4 separate regions of the Homo sapiens genome follow, and regions 1, 2 and 4 are each linked to region 3. The links are contacts of gene promoters, found by promoter capture Hi-C in human tissues and cell types (Jung and others, 2019). All regions are on one chromosome and are shown on one strand. The core of a region is centred on a gene start or on the middle of the fragment in contact, and the rest is flanking DNA. Distances in the headings are between cores, read along the strand shown. Region 1 overlaps LINC01173 (long intergenic non-protein coding RNA 1173). Region 2 has its middle 200 kb from the start of SH3BP4. Region 3 holds the start of SH3BP4 (SH3 domain binding protein 4). Region 4 has its middle 130 kb from the start of SH3BP4.

Region 1 (3,421 bases), core at 53-2,552, 250 kb after region 3:
TCAACCTCCTGGGCTCAAGCAATCCTCCCACCTCAGCCTCCTGAGTAGTTGGGACTACAACTGCACACCACCACACCCGGCTAATTTTTGTATTCTTTTGTAGAGGTGGGGTTTCACTGTGTTGCCCAGGCTGGTCTTGAACTCCTGGGTTTAAGTGACCCTCCCTTCTTGGCCTCCTGAAGTGTTGGAATTACAGGCATGAGCCACTGTGCCCAGCCAAGAACAGATTTTAAATGTTTCACAACAACAAAATAAGTATGTGAAGTGATATGTTAATTAGCTGGATTAATTCATTCCATAATGTATATATAATCAAAACATTACATTGTACCCTATAAATATATATAATTATTATTTGTCAATTAAGAATATATTTAAAAAGAAGTAAAGAGATTGACTGTGGAGCTGGTGGCATCCCTGCCCCCTACCCCAACACCCCACTTCTCAAGTATGTGTCTCCTTTCCTGAGTAACTGGCAAGGCCTTTGAAGGGGGAACTGGGGAGGGAGGAGTGCAAGGTAAAATTTATGAGACTATTTTTCCAAAGACAGATGACAAAATTCAAAATAAATTGGGACAAGGGATGTTTTTTCCCTCTCCTGCAGAACTATAGACTTGGGCCATGATTGAGTAGGGCCTGAAGAAAGCACAGTTCTGCTTGGCCCTTGCCGGTTTGGGGCTGCTATAGGGGCTCTTTGGTGAAGGGGGGTGATGTCTTCTTGGATGGCAGTGGCCGTGGTGCTGAGGAGTGTTGCTTGTGCCCTAGAAATCACAAGATGACTGGTGTGAAAGTCACTTCTTCCCCTGTGTGAGAGCCCCTTGTGGATGCCCAAAATCAACTGGGGAGAATGGGAGAGTGAGAGTAAATGAGCGAGGAGAATTGGGGAACAAATAGTGCTGGTACCTCCTGAGAACCCATGTACAAGGAGGACCCAGCGATGTTTGAGAGGCCTGTTTAGACCAAAGGCTACAAGAAAGTGCATCAACATGTAAAGAAAGATGATCTTCTTACTTTGGGAGTATCCATCCTTTTAATTTTTTTCTTATACTTTTCATATATTTAAGTTTTTGAAAGTAAGCATGTGTATTAGTCCATTCTTGCATTGCTATAAAGAAATATCTGAGACTGATCCTGGCTAACACGGTGAAACCTCATCTCTACTAAAAATACAAAAAATTAGCCGGGCATGGTGGTGGGCGCCTGTAGTCCCAGCTACTCAGGAGGCTGAGACAGGAGAATGGCGTGAACCCAGGAGACGGAGCTTGCAGTGAGCCGAGATGGCACCACTGCACTCCAGCCTGGGGGACAGAGCAAGACTCTGTCTCACACACAAAAAAAAGAAAAAAAAATATATATATATATATATCTGAGACTGGGTAATTTATAAAGAAAAGAAGTTTAATTGGCTCATGGTTCTGCAGGCTGTACGGGAAGCATAGTGTCTTCTAGTGAGGCCTCAGGAAACTTACAATCATGGCGGAAGGCAAAGGGGAAGCAGGCACGTCTCACATAGCTAGAGCAGGAGGAAGAGGAGAGGGGAGAGGTGCCACACACATTTAAGTGACCAGATCTCTCACTTGCATTAATTACCACTTTCAGATACGTAACTTCCTAGAAGAGAAGGCAAGAGGGCAGGCAGAGGTGAGTAATGGTGGAAATAATGCTAATTTACCCGGGATGATGTCATCTGTGGTTCTGGCTAGGGCCAAGTGAGTATGACAGCATAGATGAGTAGGTGTGTGGCTGAAGCTTTGTACCAGGCTCACCTCTGTCTTGTTCTCAGGTCCCCAGTACTGTTGAGACCGCAGGGTGGAAGCTGTAGAGTGGTCAGCATTTGGATGCCACATACTGCAATCACCCCTGGTTGTAGATGGGAAAATGAGGCATGGCCTGTATGCTGACTGTCTCACAGCTGCTCAGCAACTAGCGGCTCCACATTCTCTTCCTCCTATCTCACCCTGAACAGGCTGCCTCAATTTTTCACACTGAAATCCAATCATGGCCAAAGCAATTTGGGACTAAGCAGAAAACCTTCCCCCTGCCCCCTCTGCAGAAGCTGGATTCTTAGTGACATGTACTCTCAATAAGAAGCTCAATTTTTTCTTGGCTATGAATGAAAGTGATATGATTATACTTATGAAGCCTGTGCCTACAGCTTCTATCAAAGTAGTAACGACACTTTGGAAGGGGAAAGGAAGGTGTAACATTCTAAGCATTAGTCCATATTTCAGAGAATTCATAGCTTTTGGATTTCGTGGTATTTGAATAAGAAAAGAAAAACAACTTGAGTTATTTAAAGCTATATAGATACACTTACAAATAATTAATGTAAGCATAAACACACCCTTATTCAGTTTCTCCCCTCATTTTGATATTCCATATTATTAAGCCAAACCTCCCAGAACCCCCTGCTACCACACCATCTACCTTAAAGATCATTACATTTGTAAAAAGAAAATTCAGTTACTGGGTTAAAATTCTTCTGAACTCTGGCTGGGTGTGATGGCTCACGCCTGTAATCCCAGCACTTTGAGGCCGAGGCAGGTGGATCACAAGGTCAGGAGTTTGAGACCAGCCTGACCAACATGGTGAAACCCTGTCTCTATTAAAAATGCAAAATGTAGCCAGGCATGGTGGCGCGTGCCTGTAATCCCAGCTACTCAGGAGGCTGAGGCAAGAGAATTGCTTGAACCTGGGAGGCGGAGGTTGCAGTGTGATGAGATCGTGCCATTGCACTCCAGCCTGGGCGACAGAGCAAGACTCCGTCTCAAAAAAAAAAAAAAAAAAAAGAAAGAAAAAATACTTCTGAACTCAAAACATTTGGCCTGCCTTGTTAACGACATTCATCTGTGCATTCCTTTCTGGAAGCTTGTTTCAGCAGAAGTGTGTGGGTATCTAAGCAACCTTTGAGGCTTTGGGTGGAGTGGCATTAGCTTCAGCACCAAACAGCATGGTTCTTGGTTCTGAGTGCCCATTTGAAGGACCTTGAAGCTTTTTAAAAGTACAGGTCTCCCAGCCCAGGTAAACTGATCCTGAATCTCCAGGGCTGAAGCCCTGGGCACCTGCAGCGATTGAAATTCCCCGCTGTGCTGTGCACGCTCTGGGAGGACTGAGGACTACCCAAGCAGAAGCAGTTTTTCAGCTAGATGCTGACAGTCTGGAGTCCCTTGCTCCTTGTAAAGGCAAAACGAGCTACTACTAGAGCATCTTGAGTAAAAAGAATGAAGCGCCAGAAAAATAATAAGAAAGTTAAAAGATAATTCACATTCTGCTGCCCGTGTTCCTTTTGAATTAAGTTTATTTTAGGAACAGGCTTATCAAATTTGCCTGGAAGACACTACTGTCAGTTTCCATGATATTTTATGAGCTGCCATTATTCTTCCTCTACTGAGAACGCCCTCCCTGAATGTGTCTGCCTTTG
Region 2 (3,590 bases), core at 943-3,442, 200 kb before region 3:
TGGGACTACAGGCACCTGCCACCATTCCTGGCTAATTTTAAAAATTATCTATAGCGACGAGGTCCTGGCTAACTTTTTACATTATTTGTAGAGACGAGGTCTTGCTATGTTGCTGGTCTCCAACTCCTGGGCTAAAGTGATCGTTTCACCTCAGCCTCTGGAATTGCTGGGATTACAGGCATGAGCCACCAGTCCCACCCAATTTTGCAATTTTAGGAAAATAAACATAAATTTGAATCTTAGGATTGCATTTATTAAAACTCTATGTGTATGTTTGTACACTGTGAGATGTGTGAAGGAAGCTCACCAAAATGTTAAACAGCTCTTTTCTCTAAGTGGTGTGGTTTAATAGTCTGCATCTGTTTCAATAAATGCTTGTTATTCTTATAGTAAACTTTAAATTGCCCAGTGCTGATGATCTAGTTTACAGATTGGCTGCATAATGTAGGGAAGCCAGAGAATGCTCACTTTCACAGCAGTCTGAGTGCTGGCTTTAGAGATGGGAGTTGATTGAGTCAAGGATCTAAAGAAAGTGCTCTTTTCCAAGCTGGATGGAGAGGCTCGAGTGCCTTGCAGTTTGACCTCCCTGCTGCTCCTGTCAGATTCCAGGGCCAAAGCCCACTCCTCTTCCATCCTGGTGGGGGCCATAATCAACCTCACTAACTACTGGTTCCCAAGCCTGGGAGGACACACCCCAGGGCTCTGCTTCATGGTATCCACAGCTTATGCACAAGCCAGTGCTGTTGTCGTTTGGCTTTTATCATGATTTTATCTCATCTATAATCTCTTTACCCTCAATATCTCTTATAAAGAGTTATCAGTTAGTTGCTGCTGTGTAACAAACCTCCCCAAAACTTAGCGGCTTAAAGAAACAATCATGCATGATTCCTTACAAGCCTAGAGTTTGCCTGGGCAGGTTCCACTGGACTTGTTGGTACATCTGTAAGCAGGCTGGATGATAGCTGGTCTAGCCTGGTCTCAGCTAGGAAGATTCACCTCTCTCTGTTCCATACATACATTTAGTCTCTCTCCTTCTAACCACTTAGCCTGGGCTTGTTTTCACGGTAGAGGCAAGGGTCCAAGTGAGACAGCAGAATTGTACAAAACATCTTGAGGCCTAGACTCAGAACTCAGTCGCTTCCACCCCACTCTGTTGGCTAAAGCAAGCCAAAAGACCAGTTCGATTCAAGGAACATAGAAATGAACTCCAACTCTTGAGGGAAAGAGTGCAAAGTCACATTGCAAAAGGCATGAGTGGAGGAAAGGGCAAAACATTGGGATCACTTTTGCATCCTCTACTGAAAGTCAATTATGTAACCCTGCTGGTTACATCGTCTCTGCAAGGGCATGTAGAGACTGGACGTAAATAGTCACACTGTGGGGCCATTTGTGAGCTGCCACTTTGCCATCAAGGCAGCTTTTTGTGCACACAGAGTTAAATCTGGATGGGTGCCTGGGAGTCTCCTGTCTACATGATTTGGTGTCCCTCTCTTTTTCTGCCACATCTGTCTTCTCTTTCTCATCCCTTGCCCCAGGAACCCTTGCTCAGAAAGTCCATGGAGATTTTAGTTTTGCAGAATTGCCCCGGAAGGGCAGCAGTTAACCCTGATACTCTTCCCCCAAAATGGGCTTGTCACACCATCCAGCTTCTTCCTGCAAAGTATCTACAACACACCCACATTTTCCCTGGCTGACTGACACCTCTCAGAAGATGGCTTTATTGCTTTATTGCCCTAATTCACTTTTCCACCAAAGGTGAAGAGAGAAAGGAACCATAGAGTGAAGGGTTATGGGAAGGGACTTTCCAGTAGACTTACCATAAACAAATTTGAGCTCTTTTTATTTGGGGGGTGACAAGAAAGCAGATGACAGATGGAGGAGCCTCTGTGGAAATGAAGACTATGTCCACAAAGCCCTCCTGGCGAATCCTCCCAGTGTTAAGATTCCAGCGTGTTTATGGGTGGTGGGCTGCAGACGTGCCCTCTTCTCTCTGGAACAGTAAAAGCAAATGCCTCTTCCTCTTCCACCACTGTGTCAGGGAAACAATGGGGCCCTTTAACTCCATTGGTTCTTTTCCAGGCCAAATGATGACATCATTAAGGCATCCGATTTTCTCCTTACATAAAAGAAGATTAATGGAAGACCACAAGAGGAACTATTGTTTTGCCAGCTTTGTTCAAATGTGTGGTTAAAATACTTTCTTTCACAAAACACAACATTGCCCCAGAGGTAACAAAAAACCCTTCTGTAGTGATGTGCCCTCCCTTCTTGAGCGAGACCACACACAAGAAACTGAACCATGCCCACAGTCAATGCCCCTGATTGTCCTGGGTCCTGATTCCTCACCAGTAGCCCCAGCTGCCAGGAAATTGGAACCGCATGTAAAAAAGCCAAGGTAAAACAAGCCCATCTGGACCATGGTCAGAAAAAAAATTCTATTTGCCAAATCCTAAGGTCTTCATCCATAAACAGAGTCAAGGATGCTGGAACTGGAAGCCTTGAAGGTGTGAAGGTGGATGGGTGACTTGTACTCTCTCAGCTGGGCTCCATGTCCTTTCTTATCAGTGATGAATGAAGACACCATCTGAGAAGCAATGGAGAAAGCTTATTTCTGAGATAATGATTCCAATCAGTTCATTATGTCACCTGTCATGGGGCCCCTGGCATTTTCCCAGCCGTGAGCAGAGCCCCCTCTCCATTCTATGGAGTCCTTGGGTCTTGGAGCTGTCGACAGGAGTTTGCCAAGGTCTGGAGGAAATTGGGTCCCTGTGGGTGGTATCCCCACATGGACAGCCAGCTGTGACGGGATGAACAATCACTTCTTCAGGCTGTCAGATGCTTTGGTCCTTGGGCTGCTCCTAATATTTTTTTCCACAAAGCTAACACAAGATGGGATGCTTCCTCTTTGCCTAGACTTGGCAAGCGTCTTATTGTTCATATAAACAATAGTGAGAAAGGCTATCCATGGCTTTGTAAAATATCCTTTGCCCAAATCAATACAAGTATTTCTGTTCTGAAACCCAATATATTAAATTCTGTACCAGTGCTGTCCAATGGAAGTTTCCTGTATGATGTAAATATTCCATGCTGTGCTATCCCATACATATTTGCATGTGGCTAGTGAGAAGCACCTGACCTGTGGCAATTGCAACTGAGGAAGTGACTTTAAATTTTTATTTTATTTAATTTAAATGTGAGTAGCCATGTGTCATCTATATAACTTTTACAGTTATGCACTTGCTTATAAAGTTTAACATACACTGACACATGACCTAGCAAGTCTATTCCTAGGTATTTATCCAAGAGAAATTAAAGCAAACGAACACACAGAGAGTCATACGCAAAATGTTTGTAGCAGCTTCCTTTATAATAGCCGAAGATAGGAAACCACACAAATATCTATCAACTGAGGAGCAGAAAAACAAATGATGGTATCAACATGTAATGGAATATTACCCAAAGGTGAACAGAAACACACTTCTGATACACAGCAACACTTTGTTAAGTGAAAGAGTGTCTAATTGTGTGATTTCACTTCTCTAGGGAAGGCAAAACTACGGAGACAGAAAGCAGAGCGGTGGTTGCCTGGG
Region 3 (3,592 bases), core at 744-3,243:
TTCCACAGACCCACAAACATCAGGCAGTGGGCAATCTGGGGTCCCGCCTAAATATCACTGCCCCCTTACTTTAAGAAATCCGCCTACAAGCAGAAAGCAGAGGTGGAGGAGGGGGATTGGAGAGCGCTGCCTCTTCCCAAGCTTCCCACTCTGAGGGATTTGGCCGAGTCCCGAGGGCACTGAGCAAGGAACCAGGAATATTGTCCTCAGGGCTCCACTGGACATTCCTGGAGTCTGTTTCCTGGGCAGGACGGCCAGGTGAGAGGCAGCCTATTACACTGCATGACCACTGCAATGAGGAACAGTAGAATGTTCCCCAGCGCCTTAAAGTACAGCCGCTGTCCATCCACGGATGTCAAAACGCTCTGCAAACCACCCATTAATTTTTATGGTGGCTTGAGAAGCAGATTGAGAATCATTACCTTCATTTTTACAAGGCAAGGAACCAAAACCACAGAGGGCGGTGAGGATCCAGGCCTCTCCCATCATTTCATCTGGGCCACGGATCTCAAGGAAAGCCCCCAGCCCACTGGGAAGGGGACTCGTGGCCAGCAGAGATTCTGCCCGGGTAGGGAGCAAGGAAAAAACCCAAACTTTGGAGCTCAGAGACGGTCACAAGGGTGAGAAGGGGCGGCTGCATTCAGGGATTCTCTGGTTTAGGCAAGAATGGCTCCAGTTCTAACTTAATGTTCAAATCTGCCAGGCTGTGACAAGGCTGGTAAAAAATGTGGGATTGGGGATGGTTTCCTGTTTGCTGTTTATATTTCTCTTTATCTCTAGCTTTCTGTCCTGAGCATACATTGTTTCTGTAATCAGAACAAAAGTTATGCGAACTTTATTATTATCACGGATAAATTCTATAGTTCCAATCTGCCTACTAACTTGGAAAGAATAAGCAGGAATACAATCTCGCACAGTGTTCTTTTTCAGATCTCATCGATCCATCAGGCTCCACGACCCTCTGCTCGCTGAGTCCGGCGGCTCTCCCGCGGCTCCTCCCGCGCGGCATCTCTGGGCGCCCGACACCCGGTCAGGGCCAGCTGGGCCTGTCCCCAACCCCCGTCTACACCGCAGGCCCCGGGCTAGGAGCCGCGGGACCCAGGGTTGGGGTCCCAACTGACACCCGCCCGTGCCGCGGAGCGGGCTTCTCGGTAAACATCGCTCAGAGAACAACGCGCCTCTATCCCAGCCGGTCCCCGCCCGCGGGCCGCCGGCGCTGTCACCTCGCGGCTGCTCGGTCACCCGATCGCCAAGCCAGAAACCGGAGTTTTCAATTTCATCCTCACAGGAGGGATCTCCGAAGAAGTTGAAATATGCATTGTCACCAACAAGTTTAACCGGAGACCGCGCGTCCTTCCCTCCTCCCCAGCGCCGCTCGAGGGGGGCGCCCCGACCCCTCCACGCCCTCCCGTGGCCCCCACGGCCCCCGTGAGCCGAGCGCGCCCCCCGATTTGCGCCCGAGGACGCGTCCGGTTGCCCAGGGAGGCCACCCCGCAGGGCCGCCCGCCGGGAAGTGGCCAGAGCCGGGGTTGGGGGGCGGCCCGAGCGCACGCGGAGGGCTGCGGCTCGGCGCCCGGAACCCCGGGCCGGGTCCCTGCCCACCAGCACCAGGGAGACCCGAGCGCCCGGGGGAGCGGCGAGGGGCGCGCGAGGCTTCCCCGAAGCCGCCCCACGCCCAGGCACCCGCGCAGCCCCGAACTCAGGCGGCGGTGGCACGATCGGCGCCCGCGGCACGATCTGCGCCCGCAAGGGAGTGCAAAGCCCCCGAGCACGACCCCGCGCCCCCGCCGGCCCCCAGGGCCCTGCCGCCCGAGGCGCTCCCCGCCGCCGCCTGCCTACCTGGCTCGCATGGCGTCCCCGCCGGCTCCTGAGGCTCCGCTCGTCGGCCAGCGGCTCGGCCCAGCCGGGGGCGCGCGCGGCTCCGCGGGACTCACGGCGGCGGCGGCGGCGGTAGTGGCGAGGGGCCCGGACCGCCGAGAGTGCCGGGCGCGCTGGGCCCCCGCCTCGGCGGGCGGAGGGTGGTCCCGCGCCTGGGCGGGGGCGGGGGCGGGGGCGGGGGCGGGGGCGCGGGGGGCGGGGCCAGGACCGGAGCTGAGGCCGCGGAGGGGGTGGTCCCGCGCCGGGGCGGGGCTTCGGGAGAGGGGCGGGGCGGGGCGCGGCCGTCTGAGGCTGGCGAGCGTGGGGCGGGCTGGGGGTGGTGCCGCGGCTCCGGGTCCAGGCGGGTATCCAGTCTGGGCGCCTCCTCTTCTTCCTCCGCCCGGAGCCGGCCAGGGTAGCGGGGCCTTGGCCGCCCGGCATCCTCGGGTCTGGGTCCCCGGTACCGAGCAGGTCTGGGTGCTGGCCCGCGCTCCTGTGCCCCCCCGCACCCCCATCTCCCACCCCTTCTCCGGGAACCCCTAGCGAGGACCCCTGGGGCGGTGCGGTCCCCCCGCGAGCGGGCGTGGGCGAGGGTCGCGCCGCGTTCGGAGACGCTTTACTACACCTTGGCTGAGGACAGTGGAGGGAAGGCAGGCGCGAGGCTGCGGGGGCCGGAGCGAAAGTTACAAACTAACAACAGGGAAGGCAGTCCGGCTGAAAATCATAAAAGGAGGAGAGTTTCCTGCGAAGCGGAATGCAGATTGAAGGGCTCTGGTCGGAATCGTTTACACTTTGTCTGACCTGGGCGCCTCTGGGCCCCCGGCGCGTAAAACAGGCCTGGCACGTAGTAGGCGCTCCATCAATGCCCAGTGAGTGAACGCACCACTTAACTATGTGGCCAGCAACGTCTATGGACCGACACATCTAATCCTAAAAAAAAAAAAAAATCCCAATTTTGGCTAGTCCATTTCACACGAGTAAACTAGAGCTCGGAGGGTTGGTTCGCCACAGAGGAGAAGGGTAGAACCAGAATCTGAACCGAGGCCGACTCCAGAGGCTGGGGTCTAACCACTGCGCCACTGCCTGGGGCCCTCGGGACTGCGCCCACCCCCACCCCGGGAACCCGGAGCCCAGGAGAAAGCGCGGGTCTTTGCCGGGGAAGAAGCCAACATTTGTTGCTCCTGGTCCTGAGCGAGACACACACAGTCAGTCCTCACCATTAACCCCGAGGCAGATATTGTTATTGTCCCCGTTTTTATAGGTGGCTTGAGACGTGCAGCACTATGTTATGATCGCATGGGGCGTGCCAGAGTCTGAATTCAAACCGGGTATGTTCAGACTCCCGAGCCCCTGCGGCTGCCCCTAAGGCCTGCCGCTCCTGCCGTCTGGGAGACCTTCCTTTCCCTAAGGAATCTGGTTTTCTGCCACTCCATTTGAAGTCTGTGTTGAAGTTTCAGGAGACACAGGTGGACAGAGGCACCGACCTAGGGCTCGGGAGAAGGGTGGACATTGCTGTTCCGATTTTGGTGTCATCTGTGTGTAGATCATGGAATTCCTGAAAATGGATACGAGTATCCCTAAAATACATGCCGCAGATTTTGAAAGGAGGCAGTGAGGCGAAGGGGCAGGTGGAGGAAGCAGAGAAGCCTCCGAGCAGAGGAGAGTTTCTGGGTGGCTAGGAGGTCTGATTGGTGTAGGGATGTGTCTGGAGTGTGCTTGAATCTCTGGCAAGTTA
Region 4 (3,408 bases), core at 793-3,292, 130 kb before region 3:
CATTCTGCAATGTTGACTGTGGGAGGGAAAGCATGTTGAACTGGTGGCCCTGCAGGTGGTTTCGTGGAGGTTTCATGGTGACTGCTGCAGCTCTCTTGCAGCGCTGGTGGCTTCAAAGATGTTGATCTTGATGTGGCAGCAGACACCTCAGCATGGAGCCGGAATCCAGGTAGCACCTGGATCTCACACCTCCCTGTAGCCTGGAATGTGGGGACAATCCCCAGGAGTAGTGTATGGGATGATTTCTGCATCAAACAGTCCAAAGGGCTTGATGGGAACGGCAAGGCCAGGACCAGACCAGACCAGATCAAGACCCGATGGGGAGGCCTGACCAGGAGTCAGGGCACTAAATCACAAAGAATCCCCAGAGCTGCCAAATGAGCAATCAATTTACCGACTAACACACACAAGTCTATTTTATCAGCTATCAAGTTCACAAAGATATTTTAAATTTATAATCCCAAGGGAGAGCTAAAACCATGAGGTGAAAAGTTGATGGGAAACTTTATAATGGATGGATCAGGCTGACAATACCTGATTCCTCTCATTTATCTTAACGTCACCAAAGGTGGGACCCCAGACATCCTGTGCCTCTTGACTCTCGGCAATAAGTTTCTAGTGTCACCTGTAATGTTTTATTGTCTGTAAATTGAAGAACCTGAGCCAAATTGAGCCTCTAAATCTAACTATCCATCCACAGGAAATATGAGGGTTGGAAGACAGCCTTAAATGATTCCTCAACGATTCAACCAGCCCAATCCAAAAGCGAGACATTCTGTAAGATAAATGACCTGGAAAATGAGCTGATTGTTTCCAACACATAGCTGGCATGGAGAAACCAGAAGAAGAGTTGAAACTGTTAAGATCACAGGAGAATTAAGAGACATATCAGCTAAGAGCAATAAATAGCGCAAATGAACCGGAAAAAGACACTTTCGAGACAACAATCAGGAAAACTGAAGATAGACTGGTTATTAGATAATATTAAGGAATGATTACGAATCTTTTGGATATAAGAATGGTGCTGTGTGTGTGCATGTAAGCACTCATCATTTCTTTGTTAGAGAGAAGCACTGGAGTATTTTTCAGTGAATGATATGGCATCTGGAATTTGTTGTACATGCGCCAGAAGAAAAGCCAAAACAGTTTTGGGAGGACAGATGCAACACAAAGGACAGAATGTGGGTAATTGTTGGAACGAGTGATGGGCACTAGGGGTTCATTATACTATTCTCTATACTTTTGTGTATGCTTCAAATTGTTTTGTTTTTTGTTTTTGTTTTTTTTTTGAGATGGAGTCTCTCTCTGTTGCCCAGGCTGGAGGGCAGTGGTGCCATCTCAGCTCACTGCAACCACCGCCTCCTGGGTTCAAGCGATTCTTGTGCCTCAGGCTACAGAGTAGCTGGAATTAATAGGCTCATGCCACCATGCCCAACTAATTTTTGTATTTTTAGTAGTGATTGGGTTTTCCCATGTTGGACAAGCTGGTCTTGAACTCCTGACCTTAGGTGATCTGCCTACCTCAGCCTCCCAAAGTGCTGAGATTACAGGCGTGAGCCACCGCGCCCGACCTTGAAATTGTTTTATATTAAAAGATTGTTTTTAAATGTCACCCTGGATTAGCAAAGATGTGGAAAGACCTGTATTAGTCCGTTTTCACGCTGCTGATAAAGACACACTCAAGACTGGGCAATTTACAAAACAAAGAGGTTTAATGGACTCACAGTTCCACGTGGCTGGGGAGGCCTCACAATCATGGCAGAAGGTGAAAGGCACATCTCATATGGCGGCAGACAAGAGAAGAGAATGAGAGCCAAGCGAAAGGGGTTTCCCCTTATAAAAACATCAGATCTTGTGAGAATTATTCACTACCATGAGAACAATATGGGGGAAATCGCCCCCATGATTCAATTATCTCCCACCAGGTCCCTCCCACAACACATAGGAATTATGGGAGCTACAATTTAAGATGAGATTTGGGTGGAGACACAGAGCCAAACCATATCAGGATGTGTCAGGCTTTCCTATAGCAGATGTTGAGAAGCAGATCATATGAGGGTGATGGAACAAGTCATGCCTCAGAAAAGACTAGTGGGGGAAGGGAAGTGGCACCAGGGATGGGAGGTAGGGGGGAGCAATATCCAACAAAATCCCCTGGAGGGTAAATGATATGGTTTGGCTATGTCCCCTCCCAAATCTCATCTTGAATTGTATCTTTATGGCAGAGTGAAAACGGGCTAATACAAACTTTGGCTCCACCCCACAGGAGAACTCCAGAGGAAGGGGAGCTCATACTTTAGAGTTGCCTCAGTCAGGGGTAAAGAGTGTTTATTCTTAAGTTATACATGTGGAGTGTTTACACATGGCAACCACACTAGGAAGTCAATTCACTGGTCCGTTGTTTTCCCTAGGTGAGGGAGGTATTTTAAATTTTCATCTTTATACTTTTGCAGATTCTCAATAATGAGCGTATATTGTAATTGAAGAAAAATGATGAAAGATACATAATATAGATTTTTAAAACTTAATGCAACACCCAGCATGCTGAGAGTACGGCTGGCTCAGGGTGACAATGTCAAGCATGGACATGGGTGCTACATTAGAAAGAAGGTGCTGGAAACACACACTGGTTTGTGGGTGAATCCCAATGCCTTTGATGTAAATGGGACTCATAAGGAGAGAAGCAGATTTTGAGAGATAAAAGATAGTTCTGTTTGGACGTAGCTAGTTGAAAATGCCGGTGAGTCTTCAAAACTACAAAGAGATGCCACTTCACACCCACTAGGATGGCTAGAACCAAAGTGAGATAATAACAAGTGCTGACAAAAATGTGGAGAAATTGAACCCATGTGCACTGTTGGTGGAAACAGAAAACAGTGCAGCCACTATGGAAAACAATGTGGCAGTTTCACCAAAATACAAAGATCGAATTAGTATATGATTCAACTACTCCATTTCTGGGTATATATTCAAAAGAAAAGAATGCAGAGTCTCTGAGAGATAGTTGCACACCCAAGTTCATAGCAGCATTACTCACAATAGCCAAAAGGCAGAAGTAACCCAAGTATCTGTCAACAGATGAATGGATAAACAAATGCAGAATATATTAATACATACAGTGCAAAGTTACTCAGGTTTAGAAAAGAAGGAAGCATTAACACATGCTACTGCATGGATGAATCTCAAAAACATTAAACGTTATGCTAAGTGAAAGATGCTAGTCCCAAAAGACCACATATTATATGATTCCATTTATATGAAATGTCCAGAACATTTCTACAGAGGCAGAAAGCAGATTAGTGTTTGCCTAGGGCCGGGGGAGGGAGCTGGGAGAGCAGAGTTCGATAGCTAAAGCTTATGGGGTTTCTTCTGGAGGTGATGAAAATGTTCTAAAATTGTAATGGTACT

The links. Contacts are between HindIII fragments. The study calls those that stand out against the background at their distance.
Region 1: a fragment that was not itself captured here is called in contact with the fragment with the promoter of SH3BP4 in region 3 in 2 of the 25 tissues and cell types used here (IMR-90 fibroblasts and mesenchymal stem cells).
Region 2: a contact is called between a fragment that was not itself captured here and the fragment with the promoter of SH3BP4 in region 3, in 1 of the 25 tissues and cell types used here (bladder).
Region 4: a contact is called between a fragment that was not itself captured here and the fragment with the promoter of SH3BP4 in region 3, in 1 of the 25 tissues and cell types used here (thymus).

The regions. Positions count from the first base shown.
Region 1 is chr2:234,703,595-234,707,015 of GRCh38, reverse strand. All of the region lies in intron 2 of LINC01173 (long intergenic non-protein coding RNA 1173), which reads right to left. Among named protein-coding and RNA genes, the nearest start is that of LINC01173, 23 kb to the right of the region's middle. The HindIII fragment of the contact is 4,554 bases long and covers 1-3,421 here.
Region 2 is chr2:235,148,035-235,151,624 of GRCh38, reverse strand. No RefSeq gene overlaps it. Among named protein-coding and RNA genes, the nearest start is that of SH3BP4, 200 kb to the right of the region's middle. The HindIII fragment of the contact is 3,579 bases long and covers 403-3,590 here.
Region 3 is chr2:234,950,418-234,954,009 of GRCh38, reverse strand. SH3BP4 (SH3 domain binding protein 4) reads right to left here and starts at 1,993. Exons shown (of 6, transcript NM_014521.3): 1 at 1,840-1,993. It overlaps LOC105373938 (a long non-coding RNA gene), which reads right to left. Exons shown (of 7, transcript XR_007088132.1): 6 at 2,659-3,412; 7 at 2,211-2,571. RefSeq lists an enhancer at 891-1,540. The HindIII fragment of the contact is 19,834 bases long and covers 1-3,592 here.
Region 4 is chr2:235,079,906-235,083,313 of GRCh38, reverse strand. No RefSeq gene overlaps it. Among named protein-coding and RNA genes, the nearest start is that of SH3BP4, 130 kb to the right of the region's middle. The HindIII fragment of the contact is 8,690 bases long and covers 1-3,408 here.